Linked DNA regions of Homo sapiens: region 2 is linked to region 1. Evidence: promoter capture Hi-C in 16 types of primary human blood cells and fetal thymus (Javierre and others, 2016). All regions are on one chromosome and are shown on one strand. Each heading gives the region's core, a stretch centred on a gene start or on the middle of the fragment in contact. The rest is flanking DNA. Distances are from core to core; before and after follow the strand shown.

Region 1 (2,949 bases), core at 342-2,841:
TAAACATCAGTGAGATTCTACATTATTCATTAGAATGGCAAACATTAGAACACTAGATAATACCAAGTGTTGGAGAGGAGATGGAAATGACAGAAACAATTGATATGTTGGAGTGAATACTCTTGGAGTGAACAATAGATACTGTTAGAGGGAATATAAACTAGTCCAGCAGTTTTGGAAAGCAATCTAACAACATTGGGGAAATTAAGTACAGAATCTCATATGATCCAGCAATTGACTGCTGGGTGTATGTCTCAGGGATACTCACACAGATTCATAAAAGCACATGTTCCAAGAATATTATTTGTAGTATGGAAGTTAGAAACAATGTCCATCATTAGGGGAAAGGATTAGTAAAATAAGATAGAGGCATACTATGAAAATATACAATTACCATCCTGCCTTGCTTAACAACAGTAATATTTAATTGCTTAAAGACTGTGAGTGGGATAAATGGATAGCCTTTAATCATTAAAGAAAAAATAATTGATAAAATGTCTCTCGTTTTCCTTTTCTCTCTTGTGAGTTGCTCCTTCAAACACCCATCTTTTAAAACATGAGAGATATCCAGCTTAAGACTCACCATGGGCCTCGGCTAAATCTTCATGAATTTGATGAGGTTAAGAAAGCAACTACATTTCCTAAGAAAGCAACTATTTTAAAAGAGCAAACCTGGGTGTGGGGAGGGATTAGGAGTAGAGTTTGGGATGGCAGCCTCAGAAGGACAAACTTAGGCCAAGGAGGGAGGGAGTTGGGGTGGAGACTGAGCTTCTCCAGTTGGAGGTCTGGAGCTAGGACTCTTCATTGAAACCGGAGAGAAGGAAAAGGAGAGAGTGAGGCTGACTTTTTAACTGAACTCCAAAATTCTCTGAGCAATAGAATGGGCCTAATATGTACCAGGTGGGATTTAATTTTAAATGAAAGAAAAATGTTTCAGATAGCAGGGACTGTTAAAACATTGAAATTGAATGTTGTGGATCTCCTGCTGTGTTGGTTTTCAGTATTTTTTAGAGCTTTGTTATCCAGTATTATAGTCCAATTTAGGCTAAGGAACAGAATAAATTTCCTAAGAGCTGTAATTTGTGTTTTCATGTGCTTTCCCCAAAGTATTATCAACTGCTATTTGATATCCTGTCCTTTGGGCATATTTTTGTTGTTGTTGTTGTTAATGATGGTGGTGCTTTTTTGTTTGTTTGTTTTAAGAAATGAAAAGAAAAGATTGGCAAGTCCCTGGAGAGACATTATCCCCCCACCCCCCGCCAAATTTTATCTATTGCGAACAGCAGAAATACCAGCATGTTCAGATCTAAAAGCAGTCTGTTTCTTCTCCAGGTTAAAAAAATATATACTTCTTATGACTCTGGACTTAAATTTGACTTTTTAAAAATAAGAAAAATTAAAGAAGGGTAGGAAATATTGGTCACATCTCCGCGTGATTCTAGGTCCTCACTTCTGCTACCCAGTAATTAAAATACCCTGCGTTATCCTTTAGAAATTACACGCCTGTGTCTTTAACAAACTGTAAGAGAGAAGGGGGCGGGTCTCGGGAACGGCGAAGGCTCTGATTGGCCCTCCTGGCAGGAACTGGGCGGTAAAATAGCCCTTCTGTTACTGTCCGGGGCTGCGGGGTGAGAGGCCAGGGCCGAGAAGGGCTTCAGGACGCGGGAGGCGCACTTGCTTCAAGTCGCGGGCGTGGGAACGGGGTTGCAAAACGGGGCCTCTTTGTCCGGGTGGGTTAAGGGCCCTGGCAGCTTTTTCGCGAAGGCGCCATGTCCTAGCAGTTGGGCCGCAGTGGGCCCGAGGTCCACTCGGACCGCCGAGACGGCTCGATGGCCCTGGAGCTGGAGGAAGGGGGATACCTGGGCGCCGCCGCCGCCCTCGCAACTCGGCCGAGGCCCCTATCTCAACCTAGTTTCTGTTTTTCCCCTGTTCTGCAGGCTTGCTTCCGGCGTCATGGCTCAAAGGGCCTTCCCGAATCCTTATGCTGATTATAACAAATCCCTGGCCGAAGGCTACTTTGATGCTGCCGGGAGGGTGAGTTTAGGATATGTCTGCCTGCATCCCTGCCTCTCCCCACGGTGTTCGGAAAGGTGCTCATTTTTGCCTGAGAGAGTTGAGCATCCCCCTTTAAAAAAATACATGATTCGACGATAAATACGTAAATTATTTAAAAATACATGTTAATATATACAAATTGAGCTCTAACATAATGTTAAATGTGTCATTGTTAACATTATTAATTGAAATAAACTCAATTATTGATAGTATAAATTTTAAAAATTGGCAAATATGTAGTTTACTATGTAATTGGCATTTTTTAATGTATTTTGGTTTGCTTCTTAAAAAGAGGTGAAGAATCCTAACGGTATTCACATGTGCCGTGTTACTCCTTTGTGATTATACACAAGTGCGTTCAGGGTAATGATGAGAGCAAACGGTGGTGTATGGTAAGGACGTCTTTAAACTGTTAGTGCTTAGAGAATTTGGGGACCTAGGAAACCTGAAGTTCTTTGTACCGGTGTCACTCCACAGGGCATATCCACAGCTGGAAAACAAAAAAAAAGAAACTTGTAAATTAAACTGGTTAGCATGTCACAAATCACTGTGCAAAAGAGAACCTGGATGTAAAATACTAGGGGCCTGTGTTTTCTCATGCCTCATTGGGTGAACATAATTGTTAAGAGGGAATACAGATATTTTTAAGAATACCTACTTTTGGCTGGGTGCAGTGGCTCACACCATTAATCCCGACACTTTGGGAAATCAAGGCAGGAGGATTGCTTAAGGCCACGAGTTTGAGACCAGCCTGTGCAACACAGCAGGACCTTATCTCTACTAAAATTTTTTTAAAAATTAGCCAGGTGTGGTGGAAAGCTTGTAGTCCCAGCTACTTGGGAGGCTGAGGCGGGAGAATTGCTGGAGCCTAGGAGATTCGAGGCTGTAGTGAGC
Region 2 (3,369 bases), core at 231-2,730, 2.9 Mb after region 1:
GGTTCACACCTGTAATCCCGCATTTTGGGAGGCTGAGATGAGCGGATCACCGGAGATCAGGAGTTCAAGGCCAGCCTGGCCAACATGGTGAAGCCCCGTCTCTACTAAAAACACAAAAAAAGCCGGGTGTGGCGGCGGGCGCCTGTAATTCCAGCTACTTTGGAGGCTGAGGCAGGAGAACTGCTTGAACCCGGGAGGTGGAGGCTGCAGTGAGCCGAGATCGCGCCACTGCACTCCAGCCTGGCGACAGAGCAAGACTCCGTCTCAAACAAACAAACAAAATCCCACAAAAATTAGCTGGCGTGCTGGCGCAGGCCTGTAATCCTAGCTACACGGGAGAATGAGGCAGGAGAATCGCTTGAACCCGGAAGGCGGAGACTGCAGTGAGCCGAGTTCGCGCCCTTGCACTCCAGCCTGGGCGACAGAGAGAGACTCCGTCTCAAAACAAAAACAAAAACAAAAACAAAAGCAAAAAACCAAACAAAAAAATCAGCGCTCGGGCCCCCTCCCATGGCCAGCTCTTGGGGCGGGGGACTGGTAAGGGAGGTTTACCCCAGCTGGTTCTAACGTGCAGCCGCGCTGAGAGCGCAGCGGGCGGTGTGGGGCGAGGGGCCCCAGGAGGAAAAAGAAGCCTGCCCCGGGAGGATGCCGGTCCCCGCACGGTCCCACTCAATGGACCCACTCCAGCCGCGCGCTCTGCCAGGGCCTGCGGCCAGGGTACCAGGCCCTCGGCACCTTCCACGTCCAGCGTGGGTCCTCACGGGCAGGTGCGTCTTGGCATCGGGAGGAGGGAGACTGGGGCACTGGAGTCTGCAGCGCCGCCTGGGGCCGGGGCTGGAGCCGAGCGCACGCCCAGAGCTCCGCGCTTCCGACTGCAGCCAGAGCCCGCCGACCCCCGCCCCACTTTAAAAACTTGGACTCGGGCGCCACGTGTTCACTTCCCCCACTGTGCTTTAGTTGAAAAGGGTTTTGTGACTTTTCCACTCGATTGCCGCCAAGCGGGCTATTACGCCGCTTCTGACCCCACCGTGGAGACGCGGGGACTAGAGTGACCATGCCTTCTTCGGAGCGAGCTGTCTCCATCATCCGCTAACGCGCCACCTTTAAAAAACAGGCACAACGCGCAAGCGACAAAGTCAGAGGCAGAGAGCGGCGGAGCACATGATAGAAAAGGTCGAGAGGCACATTCAGCGCCAGGTGGGTGGCTTTTCTCTCCCGCTAGGAGAGCCCAGGGCACCCCATGCTCTCCCTGTGCACCCGCGGCAGTTCGGCACCCCGATCTCACTCTTGCTCCCGCCCCCACAGCGCCTCCCTCGGCGGCGGGGGAAACGGATTAAGTCGTCCGTGTACCCTGGGGACGCACGAGGGAAAGCCCCGGTCCCCCCTCCCGCAACGTCACTCCTCCACCGCGCCACGGCCCGGCCCCGCCCTCGCCGTGAGCTCCGGGGGCACCTGCCGGAGGCTGGGTGCCGGGAGACCGGAAATGCGTGGCTCCGGGCCGGGGCCGCCCGCCCCCGCGTCGCGGGCTCTTTAAGGCCGGCGGTTTTCGCAGCCAGCCCGGGGCGGGGAAAGCGGAGCGCGCGCTCCACGCGGGACCGCCTCCCGGGCCGTAAGTACCGGCGTGGCGGCGCCTCAGCCCGGCCTGGGCGAGCCCTGGGTGCTCCGCCGGGCAGCTCACGGCGCCCCGTATGGCCTGGGGATCCTAAGAGGCCCTGTGACCCCCCTCGCCTGGTCTCCCTCTCACCCCTGGAGGGTTGCCGCAGCTCCGGGGCCCCCGGGCAGGAAGGGCGCACTGGTCGTCCCGGGAGAGGGGTGAGTGGGGGGCAGCTATAGGGGGAGTTCGGGGAGGCCTCCGAGTCCCCGCTGTCCCCGCGAGCCGCTTGGAGGCCCCCAGTGTCGCTCACTTCCAGGGTCGGGGAGACGGAACTGCGGCGACCATGTATTTCTGGTTTATCAAACCGCTAACACCCAGTCTAAGGGCAGGTTCTGTCCCATTGTTATCACTATCGAAGCAGCCGATGGAGGAGGGGAGGTGGGTAGCGAAACCGTAGCGAAAGAACCCGGGCCGCCCGGCTGGCTGCAGCTGCAGTCCGGGCGCCCGGGTCTGGGTTGGAAGCGCTGCTTTCCGCGCTGCTCTGGGGCCCTGGGCGATCACCGCCGCTTCCGCCGCTTGTGTAGTTCTGAATTCACGGAGTGGTAGCAGTGCAGTGTATAGGGTATTCTGCGGAAGTTGGAATGTTCTGGGCTTTTTTTTTCTTCTTCCCCAAACACATCCGTTGACACAAATTCCGAGCCAAATCTCACTCAGATTCGGAAGAGCCATGCAAAAGAAATTGGACAAAGGCTTCCTCCACCTGTTTCTTTTTTTCTTTTGAACTTGTAAACGACCTTAAAAGCATTTGGAGTTAGTTAAGAACAGATAATGTATCTTTTGGCCAGAGCGTCACCCAGGATTCTTTTGCACGGCAGGTCTGAGCAGAGGGCGGGGTGCAGGCGGAATGGCCCTCGTGCCCTATGAGGAGACCACGGAATTTGGGTTGCAGAAATTCCACAAGCCTCTTGCAACTTTTTCCTTTGCAAACCACACGATCCAGATCCGGCAGGACTGGAGACACCTGGGAGTCGCAGCGGTGGTTTGGGATGCGGTAAGTAAGCCCTGGGGGACCTCTGAAAACGTTCACACTTGCAAGACTGGCTTTTATTTTTTATTTTTTTTAGAACAGCTTTATTGAGATATAATTCACATAGCATACACTTTACCTATTTAAAGTGCACAATTCAGTGCGGTTTTAAAAATACAGTATATTCACAGAGTAGTGCAACTATTACCGCTTCAATTTTAAAAGTTTTACTATCACTGCCACTCTCAAACCCGTATCCCTTAGTCACTCCTCTTGTCCCTCCACATAGATTACATTTTAAAGGTGTAAATGAAAGCTGAGGAAAGTTAATGACTTGTCGGAGAGGATAGGAAGGAAAGCCCCCAACTGCTTTGGACACGAGTTAGTCTTTTTTTCTTTTGAGACATAGTCTCGTTCTGTTGCCCAGGCTGGAGTGCAGTGGTGCGATCCTGGCTCAATGCAGCCTCCGCTTCCTGGGTTCAAGTGATTCTCCCACCTCAGCCTCTGGAGTAACTGGGGCTACAGGTGCACGCCACCACACCTGGTTAATTTTTGTATTTTTTGGTAGAGATGGGGTTTCGACATGTTGGCCAGGCTGATCTGGAACTCCTGACCTCAAGTGATCCACCTGCCTCAGCCTCCCAAAGTGCTGGGATTACAGGCGTGAGCCACAGCGCCCAGCCGAGTTAGTCTCTTTATTTCACAGAGTATTGTAAAGTGGCAGAGCCCAAAATGGAGATTATGTGTT

What was found. The method cuts DNA at HindIII sites, captures the fragments that hold promoters and counts their contacts. A CHiCAGO score of 5 or more calls a contact.
Region 2: a contact is called between the fragment with the promoter of METTL21A here and the fragment with the promoter of LANCL1 in region 1, in 2 of 17 cell types (non-activated CD4 T cells and activated CD4 T cells). The highest score is 6.6, in non-activated CD4 T cells.

The regions. Positions count from the first base shown.
Region 1 is chr2:210,475,401-210,478,349 of GRCh38, reverse strand. It overlaps LANCL1 (LanC like glutathione S-transferase 1), which reads left to right and starts at 1,591. Exons shown (of 10, transcript NM_006055.3): 1 at 1,591-1,730; 2 at 1,938-2,034. The coding sequence starts at 1,954. It also overlaps a transcript of CPS1 not described here. The HindIII fragment of the contact is 5,337 bases long and covers 1-2,876 here.
Region 2 is chr2:207,623,505-207,626,873 of GRCh38, reverse strand. METTL21A (methyltransferase 21A, HSPA lysine) reads left to right here and starts at 1,480. Exons shown (of 4, transcript NM_001127395.5): 1 at 1,480-1,812; 2 at 2,470-2,645. The coding sequence starts at 2,499. RefSeq lists enhancers at 1-309, 310-1,014 and a silencer at 1,285-1,884. The HindIII fragment of the contact is 10,824 bases long and covers 1-3,369 here.